Linked DNA regions of Homo sapiens: all the other regions are linked to region 3. The links are contacts of gene promoters, found by promoter capture Hi-C in blood cells and fetal thymus (Javierre and others, 2016). All regions are on one chromosome and are shown on one strand. Each heading gives the region's core, a stretch centred on a gene start or on the middle of the fragment in contact. The rest is flanking DNA. Distances are from core to core; before and after follow the strand shown.

Evidence for each region. The method cuts DNA at HindIII sites, captures the fragments that hold promoters and counts their contacts. A CHiCAGO score of 5 or more calls a contact.
Region 1: a contact is called between the fragment with the promoter of MPEG1 here and the fragment with the promoter of PATL1 in region 3, in 1 of 17 cell types (M1 macrophages). The highest score is 5.2, in M1 macrophages.
Region 2: a fragment that was not itself captured here is called in contact with the fragment with the promoter of PATL1 in region 3 in 3 of 17 cell types (total CD8 T cells, activated CD4 T cells and fetal thymus); the score reaches 5.6 in total CD8 T cells.
Region 4: a contact is called between a fragment that was not itself captured here and the fragment with the promoter of PATL1 in region 3, in 3 of 17 cell types (M2 macrophages, M0 macrophages and non-activated CD4 T cells). The highest score is 7.0, in M2 macrophages.

The regions. Positions count from the first base shown.
Region 1 is chr11:59,211,333-59,214,300 of GRCh38, reverse strand. It overlaps MPEG1 (macrophage expressed 1), which reads left to right and starts at 1,374. Exons shown (of 1, transcript NM_001039396.2): 1 at 1,374-2,968. The coding sequence starts at 1,436. RefSeq lists an enhancer at 1,198-1,397. The HindIII fragment of the contact is 5,135 bases long and covers 1-1,388 here.
Region 2 is chr11:59,166,306-59,169,389 of GRCh38, reverse strand. No RefSeq gene overlaps it. Among named protein-coding and RNA genes, the nearest start is that of DTX4, 4.3 kb to the left of the region's middle. The HindIII fragment of the contact is 2,567 bases long and covers 34-2,600 here.
Region 3 is chr11:59,667,571-59,670,695 of GRCh38, reverse strand. It overlaps PATL1 (PAT1 homolog 1, processing body mRNA decay factor), which reads left to right and starts at 1,659. Exons shown (of 19, transcript NM_152716.3): 1 at 1,659-1,815. The coding sequence starts at 1,801. It overlaps PATL1-DT (PATL1 divergent transcript), which reads right to left and starts at 1,386. Exons shown (of 4, transcript NR_187296.1): 1 at 1,154-1,386. RefSeq lists enhancers at 1,110-1,399, 1,326-1,620 and a silencer at 1,580-1,929. The HindIII fragment of the contact is 2,400 bases long and covers 879-3,125 here.
Region 4 is chr11:59,184,948-59,188,028 of GRCh38, reverse strand. The region is part of intron 2 of DTX4 (deltex E3 ubiquitin ligase 4); the gene reads right to left. It overlaps LOC124902675 (a long non-coding RNA gene), which reads left to right. Exons shown (of 4, transcript XR_007062682.1): 2 at 1,148-1,339. Among named protein-coding and RNA genes, the nearest start is that of DTX4, 14 kb to the right of the region's middle. RefSeq lists a silencer at 1,505-1,594. The HindIII fragment of the contact is 7,574 bases long and covers 1-3,081 here.

The DNA.
Region 1 (2,968 bases), core at 125-2,624, 460 kb after region 3:
CTCATTCTTTCTAAAAACACTTCTTTGCTGCATTAATAACCAACAGAGGAATTCAACTCCTTGGAACCTTCCTTCCAGGATGCATACAGGTGATGGTGTAGTGATACCTGTGAATTGCAACATGACTTTTTCAGTCTCAGTACTGTATCTAGTTCATGGTATAATCTTGGGAATGTTAAGGATGCAACTGGGAGCTTCACTAAGTCCTCTGGATTCCCTGGCTACCACTAAGCATACTAAGACATAGCCTAATTGTCCCAAAGAATTAACAGAGTTGGGTTTCAATCAAACCTGTCACCATTGTTTTAAATTATGGGCTCTAATAGAGCTGGCATTGGAACTTGAAAAGAAACTCATGTAATTATATTCTTCTAATGATATAGCAAATGAATTTTTGCTTTTAGAAAAAATATTGGGTAGTGAAGAGCCACATTCTTTTTTATCCACCTAAACTGATTACACACACTTAGCAATGGAACAAAAAATTAAAGGTATAACAGGTACCAACTTCATACAAAATGCACACACACAGAGGATATATAAATGTGTGTACACATACACATATGTTCCTTGGCCCCTGTCTGCTGTTGATAAATCAAAATCTAGATAATAGTGTGGTTTTGTCTTGAACATTTCTATCTGAATGAAAACAACACAGTGTAGGAGTTCCTTGCCCTCGCTTTGAATGCTTAGGACAATGCAAATTGGGGTTTCCCAGCATATTGCAACCGAATCCTCTTCAGGCCCTGTCAGCTGTGCTCCAGACAATGCCATCCCCAAAGACAGAATTGCTATGGTTCATAACAGTGAAACCCACAGGACAAGTGTCCAAGAGTTTCACTCCTTTCTTTTGTGGAAACAGCCTCCACCCTCAGGCAAAGAGGAAACCCAGGGTTGGCCTTGACTAACAGCTTGCATAGGTATGGTGGAGCCAGGGTGTTTCAGTAAGGGTGGTGTGGTCATTTGCCTCTGCATTTATAGTAAAAGAAAACTGATAATGGAGTCCCAAGAGACAGCAGTCAGGGAAAATATGAAACATCAAGTCCAAGAGAATGAGCAAAAAGCAAAGCCAAACTTTCTGGTGGAGGAAGCAGTAGGGTGTGGGGTCGGGATTTTTTTCTAAGTGCACACCCCTGCAGCAGAGTAACCAGCCAGAGCTGGGGGAAAAATTAGGATAGCTACCTGTTAGGCATGTAGGGGTGTGTTTGCATGTTTAGTACGGCATAAATTCTTCAAAGACCTGATGGTCTTTAATATTCCAACCAACTCTCGTTTCCCCATTTTGTCATTAAATTAGCTTAAAGAGGAACTTGTAGCTTTTAGAGAACTCATGAGTTTTCCGCTTCATCATCTGCTTCTGTTTTCTCCATCTTAGTTTGCCCAAAGCTTGCTGGCCGCTGTGTAGGGCTGGTGAGTGGCTGGGGCTGTCTGAGCCATGAACAACTTCAGGGCCACCATCCTCTTCTGGGCAGCGGCAGCATGGGCTAAATCAGGCAAGCCTTCGGGAGAGATGGACGAAGTTGGAGTTCAAAAATGCAAGAATGCCTTGAAACTACCTGTCCTGGAAGTCCTACCTGGAGGGGGCTGGGACAATCTGCGGAATGTGGACATGGGACGAGTTATGGAATTGACTTACTCCAACTGCAGGACAACAGAGGATGGACAGTATATCATCCCTGATGAAATCTTCACCATTCCCCAGAAACAGAGCAACCTGGAGATGAACTCAGAAATCCTGGAATCCTGGGCAAATTACCAGAGTAGCACCTCCTACTCCATCAACACAGAACTCTCTCTTTTTTCCAAAGTCAATGGCAAGTTTTCCACTGAGTTCCAGAGGATGAAGACCCTCCAAGTGAAGGACCAAGCTATAACTACCCGAGTTCAGGTAAGAAACCTCGTCTACACAGTCAAAATCAACCCAACTTTAGAGCTAAGCTCAGGTTTTAGGAAGGAACTCCTTGACATCTCTGACCGTCTAGAGAACAACCAGACGAGGATGGCCACCTACCTGGCAGAACTCCTGGTGCTCAACTATGGCACCCACGTCACCACCAGTGTCGACGCTGGGGCTGCTCTTATTCAGGAGGACCACCTCAGGGCCTCCTTCCTCCAAGACAGCCAGAGCAGTCGTAGTGCCGTGACCGCCTCTGCTGGACTTGCCTTTCAAAACACCGTGAACTTCAAATTTGAGGAAAACTATACCTCGCAGAATGTCCTCACCAAGAGCTACCTCTCAAACCGAACCAACTCCAGGGTGCAGAGCATTGGAGGGGTTCCTTTTTACCCAGGCATCACCCTCCAGGCCTGGCAGCAGGGTATCACCAACCACCTGGTGGCCATCGACCGCTCTGGCCTGCCGCTGCATTTCTTCATCAACCCCAACATGCTACCTGACTTGCCAGGCCCCCTGGTGAAGAAGGTGTCAAAGACAGTGGAAACTGCTGTGAAGCGCTATTATACATTCAACACCTACCCTGGCTGCACAGATCTCAATTCTCCCAACTTCAATTTTCAGGCCAACACGGATGATGGCTCCTGCGAGGGGAAAATGACCAACTTCTCTTTCGGTGGGGTTTATCAGGAATGCACTCAGCTCTCAGGGAATAGGGATGTCCTCCTCTGCCAAAAGTTGGAGCAGAAGAATCCACTCACTGGTGATTTCTCCTGCCCCTCTGGCTACTCCCCGGTGCACCTGTTATCCCAGATCCACGAGGAGGGTTACAACCACCTGGAGTGTCATCGAAAGTGCACTCTCCTCGTCTTCTGCAAGACCGTGTGTGAAGATGTGTTCCAGGTGGCAAAAGCTGAATTTAGGGCTTTTTGGTGTGTGGCCAGCAGCCAAGTACCTGAAAACTCAGGACTGCTTTTTGGGGGCCTCTTCAGCAGCAAGAGCATAAACCCCATGACAAATGCACAGTCATGCCCAGCCGGCTACTTTCCACTGAGACTCTTTGAAAACCTCAAG
Region 2 (3,084 bases), core at 68-2,567, 500 kb after region 3:
CAACAGCTTTAGGATAAAATACCTGGGAAAGCTTCACCAGAGTCGTTCTCCACCATGGCAATGTTCATGCTCATTCCTCTCATCAAACAAACGCACTTTTGTGAGCAATTTGATGGAAAATCTTTTAATCTGCTGTACAGTCCTGATTTGGCTCCTCTGACTTCTTTTTGTTTCCTAATCTTAAAAAATTTTTTAAAGAGCATCTGTTTTTCTATAGTAAAGTAAAACTGCATTGATATGGTTAGGGTCCCAGGACACTCAGTTCTTTAGTGATGGACTAAATGATTCATATCATCACCTACAAAATATCTTGAACTTGATGGTGCTTATGTTGAGAAATAAAGTGTACATTTTTTATTTTGTTTTTTAATTTTATTTTTCACAAACTTTTGGAAGTCCCCTCGTGTTTGTGTGTGTATGACTTGACATTAATAGTAAATTATAGATGTAAAATATTTGTATTTTAATAATCCATGATAATTTATAGTTTATCATGACCCAATTAGAAATAATAATTTATAATTATGTATAAATAATTATTATATATGTATATACATTTCTTAGATCTTCTAACACAATCCTAATTTCAAATAATCTGTACCATAAACCCTGAAAATCTCAGAAATTCCATTTTATTTATTTATTTATTTTTTGAGACAAAATCTTGCTCTTGTCCCCTAGGCTGGAGTGCAATGGCATGATCTCGGCTCACTGCAACCTCCTCCTCCCAGGTTCAAGCGATTCTCCTGCCTCAGCCTCCCCAGTAGCTAGGATTACAGGTGCCTGTGACCAGGCCCGGCTAATTTTTGTAGTTTTAGTAGAGATGGGGTTTCACCATGTTGGCCAGGCTGGTCTCGAACTCCGGACTCAGGTGATCCGCCCGCCTTGGCCTCCCAAAGTGCTGGGATTACAGGCATGAGCCACCGTGCCTGGCCGACATTCCATTTTAGTATCCAAACTATATCTCCCAAATTGTCTCCTGTACTCATAAGTGGCATAAAAATCTTTAACCAAATGATATGCCAAATTTTTAATTTGAACATATGATGGCTATAATAAAACCTCACTAATTGAGACTATGAAGCCAGTTTTGAACTGTTCAAAGGTACAATTTGATGATACTTCAAAAAAGGTCGTCATTGTCTAACACAAAGATTCAGTGAAAAAGCCGCTTCTCTTCTTTTTCTGTGGAATGTTCATAGACAAAGCCCTTTTTTTTTTCAATTACCTATTATTATGTAATAAAGCACCCTAAAACTGGTGGCTAAAAACAGCAGCAAGCGTTTATTTTTCAAACACATCTGCACTTTGGGGAGGGCTTCCAAGGACAGCTGGTCTTTGCTACACACAGCATTAGCTCAAGGGAGCTCTCAGGAAAGCAGGTGGCTGGAATCATCTGTAGGTTTGCTCATTCATAAGTCTACTGCTTGATACTGGCTGTTATCTGGGCACTCAACTAGGGCTATCAGCCCAAGTACCTACACATGGCCTGTCCATGTGATTGATGGGCATTCTCACAACACAGAAGTTAGTTTCCAAATAAACGAGAGGCAAGAGAAAAAGCCAGGCAGAAGATGCATTGCATTTTAATTTTTTATTTTAAAATAATTTAAATTCACATGCAGTTATAAGAAACAGACAGAGCCTGTGTATCCTCAACATCCCATAAAACTATAGGAAAACTATAGTGCAATACCATTGCTGATATTGACACAGTTAAGATACAGAATGGTTACAATTCTGCTCCATTATTGATATAATACCATTGTGTCACACATTATACAATACACATTTTGTATACAATATACATTTTCCACACCACAAGGATTTCTCATGTTGCCCTAAAAGGTCACACCCACTAATTCCTCCCCACTACCATCCTGTCCATAACTCCTGGCAATAACTAATATGTTCTCCATATTTATGATTTTGTCATTTCAAGAATATTATGCAAATGGATCATAGAGCATTCAATCTTTTAAGATAGGCTTTTTCCACTCAGCTTAATTCTCTAAAGATTCATCCAAGTTGTGTGTATCAAGAGAAGTTTGTTTCTTTTTATTGCTAAGTAGTGTTCCATAGTATCCATGGACCACCTTACTGTTCATCCATGGAAGTTCATATAAGTTGTTTCTAGTTTGGGCTATTATGAATAAAGCTACTATGAACACTCTCATCCAGGTTTTTGTGTGAAGGTAAAGTATCCATTTCTCTGTGATAAATGCCTAGGAGTACAATGGCAAGGTCATAGGGTAGTTGCATGTTTAGCTTTTTTAACAAACTGCCAGTTTTCTAAAGTGGCTGCACCATTTTGAATTTTCACCAGCAATATACCCATGATCTGGTCACTACATCTTCACCATCATTTTTTGGTCAGTATATTTTATTTTAGCCATTTTGGTAAGTGTGTAGAGTTATTTCATTGTTTTTAACTTGTTTCCTTATTGACTAATAATGTTGAACATCTTTCCATGCGTTTATTTGCCATATATGCTCTTTGATATCTGTTCAGGTCTTTTGCTGGTTTCTGTTTTCTATTATTGAAATTAGAGAGTTCTTTTTATATTCTAAATATTGGGCTGGGCACAGTGGCTCAAGCTTGTAATCCTAGCACTTTGGGAAGCCCAGTCAGGAGTTCGATTGCCTGAGCTCAAGAGCTGGAGATCAGCATGGGCAACATGGGGAAACCCTGTCTCTACAAAAAATACAAAAATTAGCTGGCCGCGGTGGTGCAGGCTTGTGGTTTCACCTACTTGTGAGGCTGAGGTGGGAGGATCGCTTGAGTCTGGGAGGTTGAGGCTGCAGTGAGCTGTGATGGTGATGTTGCACTCCAGCCTGGGCAACAGAGTGAATCCTAGTCTCAAATAAATAAATAAATAAATACTCTTGGTGGATATATAGTTTGAAAATATTTTTTCTCAATCTGTAGCTTATGTTTTCCATGCTCTTCATAGCGTCTTTCACAAAACAAAAGTTTTTTAATTTGATAAAATACAACTTACCAAATTTTTTTTTTCTAAATGGCTTCTGTTTCCCATGTTAATTTTAAGAACTCTTTGGCTAGTCCTAAGATTTGAATATTTT
Region 3 (3,125 bases), core at 410-2,909:
GCTAATTTTTTGTATTTTTAGTAGAGACGGGGTGTCACTCTGTTAGCCAGGATGGTCTAGATCTCCTTGACCTTGTGATCCGCCCACCTCGGCCTCCCAAAGTGCTGGGATTACAGGCGTGAGCCACCGCGCCTGGCCTGTTACTTAGTATTTGATGTTTTATAATGTTCCATGCATGCTTGAAAACCAATAAATCATCTTGTCCCGACGCTCCACTTCTTTAAAGTTCAGGCCTGGCCCATGTCAACATTTGCTTTTGTTATTCTGGCACAGTGATTAAGACACTCGGTTTTTAATAATCAGACAAATCTCAGCTGCTAGCTTTACCACTTGCCATTGGGTGGTTGGAGGCAAACAATGTCGCTAATCCTCAGGTTCCTCAACTGTAAACTGAGAAAATAACAGTACCTACCTCATGGGGGGCACATAAGGAAGGATTCAATGAGATAATCCATTTTATAAAGCGCCTAGCAGAGTCCCAGGCAGCCTTCAATCGTTAGTAGTGTTACCATCATGAGGCAGGTGTAATTATACCCATTTTACAAGAAACTAAGGCTCAGAGAGGTTTAGGTAAGTTGCCCAAAGTTTCCTAGCCAGTGGCAAAGCACAAGCTCCCACCCAGAACTTTTCTTCACAAATTCAGCGTTTCCGATACTCAAACTGATCCAGACACACTAACATTTAGGGGATTTACTGTATGCCATTCCGAGACGAGGCTGCATTTTAAGACGCCCAGGGAAGAAACGGATTGCGAAACCCAAAAGAATTCATTCTTTGTGCTGCAAGTTTTGTCTGAAAGGAAAGGGGCAAGAAGGGCATGGAGCGTGCTAGAGGTAACAAACCACCCAACAGAATTCTGGAACCAGGGGGCCGAAGCTTCTAAGCTGGACACATTCCTCTGTGGGTTCGATCCTCTAAGGAAGTGGAGTCACCCAGCGGCGCACCACGGCCCGAAGACCCTGCTGCTGCGTGGCCAGCGGCCCACGGCCGTGCGGCCCTTCGAGGCTCTGCAGCTCCTCGCGCCTAATGAGCCTGGCGCTTAAAAATACCACCCTAGTTAAACCTCCCGGAACCTGTCTTCAGCATTTCAAAAAAAAAAAAAAAAAAAACGGGCGCCGTCATCACTTTGAGCCACATAAATCACAGCCCTGACCTGCTGTGGATTCAGCAGGCGACGAGCCGCTGAAAGTGGCGACGAAGTCCGCCCCTTTCGAAGACCAGCAACTTTCCATTCTTTTTTCCCTGCGCAAGGCGCAGATTGCAACGGGGAGACCCCCGAGCAGCCTGAGGAGTGAGTCGGACGTTGGAAAAACTGCCCGGGAATCTCATCTTTCCCAGCCCAGGCTAAGCGCAGGATTCTTCAAAGCTATATCCTGTGACAATCACAAGGGTTTTCTCCGCCCCACGGGTGACGGAGAACTCGTGACCGGCCCCTGAGCTCCAAGCCGAGCGCCTAGAGGGCGCGGAGAAAGAGGGGGCGGAGCTACAAGCCCAGATCACCAGGCAGCCGAAGACGGGCAGCGCGTGCGCAGTCTCTCGCCACGGGACCTCCTTCCCGCCGCTGAGACTAGGAAGCGGGACGCCAAATCTGTCCCTGCGCAGCCGCCGCCGCCGGGCGCCGAGCGGGGTGGCCGCCCTGCCTGAGGCGCGCCTGCGCACGTCCCCACGCACGCTCCGGCGTACGGCGGCGGCCAGGGGTCGCGAGCCGGTGGAGGACCCGCGCGCGGAGGAGCCGGGGAGTCAGCGCTTCTTCCCTCCCTCCCCCTCTCCCCTCCCCGCTCCCTGCCCCCCTCCCCAAGAATGTTCCGCTACGAGGTGAGCTGTTGCGACCGGAAGTGACCCCTCCCTCCCTCCCGCGCCCCTCTCCCTCACTCTCTCTCCGCGCGCCGGTCCTGTGTTCCTGCGGGGCAGGGGGCGGGCTGGGGGAGTCGCAGGACTTAGCTGGACGCGACTGGTCTGGGGTCGCGGGTCTAATCCTAGGGCTGGGAGCTGGCTTCATGGGTCGAGACAGTCCCATTAGTTGCCGCTGGGGAAAGTTGGCCTCCGTTTTGGGGTGGGGAGGGCCCGTTAAGTGCTGTAACCAGACCACACCCCCGCCCCCACCCCTAGAGGAGCCACGGAGGGTAGAGCACTGCATCTCCCCGGGTGCTTTTCTTAAGTAGGTGTCACCCGGGAATTCCCAGAGCCGCGTTTCCCGCCCTGGACCCGGAACCACCCCCCACCCACCTCCACTCGAATTACACTGACACACATCCCATTCACACAGGCTACCTTCAGGTGAAGGGGGCCTGGGCTTGCCGTTGGATTAGGGCCCCAGCCCGTTTACTAAAGAGGGCTCCGAGTTGGGAGGGGGGCGTGTCCTGCAGAAGTTCCTTCTGGGCTAGTGCTGGGAGACGCGGGTTTGGAGAAGGTGCCGGGAATGTAGCAATAGCAGCAGACAGTACTGACCCTGTCACCAACTCACTGTGTGACCTTGAGTGACTCCTAATCTCTGGACGTAAACTTTCTGAATTTGTAGCATGAAAGAACTGATGTAAATGATCCTTAAGAATTTTTAATTTAAAAAAGCAGCGATTTGGTAAAGTAGATATTTGTGATTTGGAAGGGAGTACTGCTGGAAGTTGCCTCTGATAAGGAGGCAGTGGCATGCCTATTGGCATGAGTTTGGAAGGGCTCTGGGGTAAGAAGAACGCCCTTTGACCTAATCTTTCCATTGTAAACAGGGTAGCTAAGAGGTAGCCAGGCAAGGTGTATCACAAACGTACCTACTGATAGAATATGGAATTCTGATTCTGAATTTTTGAAAATTGAGGACAGGTATACTTGATAGGAATGATCTAAGACCAAACCAAAAGGAAAACTTGGAGAATAAATCAGTTGAGTAAGATTGAAGTAAAGGGGGAAAATAGAACACACCTAGGATGTGGTGGCCTCTAGCCTTTGTTCGATAATCTGTAATCTTTGCCCACTTTGATCATCACAACTCTCTGCCATAGTTGGTATTGTCCCTGCATTACAATGTAAGACATTGAGCCTTACAGCCTAGCACAGAACCTTAGACGCAATAGGTCCTTAAAAGGTATTTGATGAATTAATTAGAAATTTTCTGAGTTGCCCATGTTCAC
Region 4 (3,081 bases), core at 435-2,934, 480 kb after region 3:
ACAAGGTCCCAGATCCAGACCAGAATATCCACCTGTGGAGCACGAGAAGCTGCATTTCCCAAAGCTCCTGAGAAGCTGCAGATGTAGCAATCCCCAGCCTAACATTTGGAACCACTGCTAGAACAGCTGTCACTTCTCCTTTTCCCTGAGACATATATAAATATTAGGCAAAGCCTCCTCCCCTTTCTGTCCTTCTCCCCAGCAACTCCAGCCAGGCTGGAGAGGAGATGGCACAGCTGCCTGGGAAAGGCGCGGCCCTCCCACAGCGCTGACTTGGAAAATATGGGACACATGGGTCTGGGTCTTGCGCCATCCTCTCTGTCACCCACACTCCTGCAGCTGGGCTTGGAGAGGCTAATGGACCCGGTCACAGATGACTCCAGGAGGCAGACAGCCTGCAAAGCCAACAGCTCTGCTGTGGGGGCAGGATGGTGCTGGGAAAGCAAGAGGAGGAAAAAAAGAATATTTATGTATTGATTTATCCATCCAAAAAGTGTTTATTGAGCCCTACTTTGTGTTGTTTGCTATTCCCGATGCTGGGGGTCAGCAGTGAACACATGGCTCATGGCCCTTCTTCACTCACATGTTACAGTTACCAACATGCACAGAGCTCACCTCCCCCCAACAGTGGCTCCAACTGCTCACAGCATATAAACCTGTCTGATCCTTCCAACATCCTATGCAAGAGGTGCAGTCATTAACACCATTTTAGAGACAACTACATTGAGGCACAGAGAGGTTAAGGAAACTTGGTAAGATCACACAGCTAAGCCAGAAAATCTGGCACCAGAGCCCATTTACTATGCCAGGCTCTTGTGTTTACGTAATCCTTATAACATCCCACACTGCAAACATAGACCAGAAACTCAGAGAGCGTAATGAATAAACCCACCACTAGGAATGGGGAAAGCTGCAACGGGACCTCCATGCCAAGCAGTGGGGTCTGTCTCTGCCCCTCATGCCTGTAAGGAAGGTTCTTCCCCAGCTCTAACCTACTTTGAGCCTGCCTGGGGCTCTGTCCCTTCCCAGGGATGATGACATGTGCACCAATGCTGGGAGATGGATGTGAAAGAACAGATGTGGGAATGGGAATGTTTGTGTCTCACCAGGCCACCCAAAGCCGCTTTTCTTCTGAAACTGTCCCCAGGATAAATCAAACCAGGATGGGAGGATGGAGGAGAAAGCTGAATACAAAACAAGGGCCACTGGGCCAAGAAAAGAAGAATGGACTTGTTTCTGGACTCTGTGACCTGCTCCCCAGGGCCAGGCATGGTATGGTGGATGGGCAGTCAGGAAAATCAGGTGCAAGTCCCATCCCTGCCAGGAGTTTCTCGCTAAGGTAGTTAACTTTTCTGAGCCTCAATTTCCCCATCTGTAAAACTGTGAGGGTCTTGGGTTAGAAGACGCTACGGAAACTGGCTGACAACTTCCCACCAATATCTGAGAAAAAAATGGCCACCCAAGCCCTGAGTCCTCCACTTATGGCCGATTCTCCTCGCCCAGCTCTTTCTGGAGAGGTTTGGGGAAAAGACCCGGCTTCCTGTGTCCTGCTCCCAGCTCCCCAGCAGGGGGCAGCACTCAGAACCCAGACCTGCACCTACCTTCTCCCTCGCCATCTTCAGAGCCCCCACTCCAGCTGATAAGTAGCTGTGATCTGGGTGACAAAAGCCACCTTTGTTCCCATAAACTGGACTGGCAGGTTTCCACACCCAATCTGGCCAACCAGGAAATAATCCAATCCCCAGAACACCACACATTTCAGGCAGCTCAAGAACTCAGGGGCAAGATGTGGAGAGAGGGAGGGAAGGGCCCGCATGTGGACCTGGGACACACAAGAAGACTATGGGTTCAACAGGTGGGAGAGATACATGTCCCTGCCACTTGAGGAGAGGAATGACATGGCGGGTAGGCTTGTCACTGGGCTCTGGGAAGGAGGGGTCTGGGGAGAAGGGGTATATTTGCTTGTGAAATCCAGAACCGTGTAATGGAAGGAGCTCTGCACTGGAGTCAGGGAGTCTTTGTTTTAGCCCCGCTCAGCACTGACCTGCTTTGCCTTTGGGAGAGCCGCACAGCCTCTCTGCGTTCTGTTGACCATATCTAAGTTACCACAGCCGTGAACAGGGCATCCTAAATGTCTGCCCCATGGGGTCCCTGTGAGGATTTAGGAACTAGGTCAACTAACTGTAAACAGCTGAGCCCTGTGCAAGTTTGGGTGACTGTTTATGCTTTTACCTCCCAAGTATAAAAGGGGCATTGGGCTGAATAAAGACGTTTTCTGCTCTAATATTCCAATTTTCTGATTCTCGAGGTCATGGGTATCCAGCATAAAGTTGAGTGCTGGGCAGTACTTGAGACGGTTGATCTCACCTCCCCCACTATTACTGGTTAAACCTTGGAGAACAGCCCATGAAGTCCCAGCTGGTCACACCCTTTTGGGGCCTCAGCTTCAAAAGCCTGAGCTCTCCTAGAAAACTGCAACCCAATGGCAGGCATGCATCTCACATCCTTCAGGCAACTCCATCAGCCAAAACTGTCTGTCCTAACCACTGCTTGGCCAATCATAAGACACCCCCTGCCCCCATTCAGTTGGCCTGTTCCCTGATATGGAGGGTCTTTTGTTTCTGTCGCTAAAACATAAAACTAAGACAAGAGAAGAGAGCTGGCAAGGTGGCAGAGAAAGGAGTTTTGAGGGAGGGAGTATATCTCTGCAGTCACCATGATGAGAAGCAGTGTTTTTCTCGGAGTTATGCACCAGTCCAGGAATCCTCCAGCAGGACAAGGATCTTGTCTCTACGGCAACTGAGGCCTAGCTGGAGACAGAGAATCCTCAGCTCTAGAGGAGGGGGCTAGAGGGGTGACGCTTGCCTCCACTGCACAGCCCCCTTCTTGCTTCCCTTTAGAAAACCCCTGCTTCTGTCTCTGAATAATTCACAGGATCTTTTGTTCCTGCCCCCAAACCTTTCTCTTCATCCCACTCCTCCCGCCCTCCCTGGTCTTCCTTTTTCCGTGGGAAAGTTGCTGGAAGAGGTCATGGGCAGAGAGAGGAGGGGGAAAGGGGCCCTGCAATGACAGAAGGTCGAT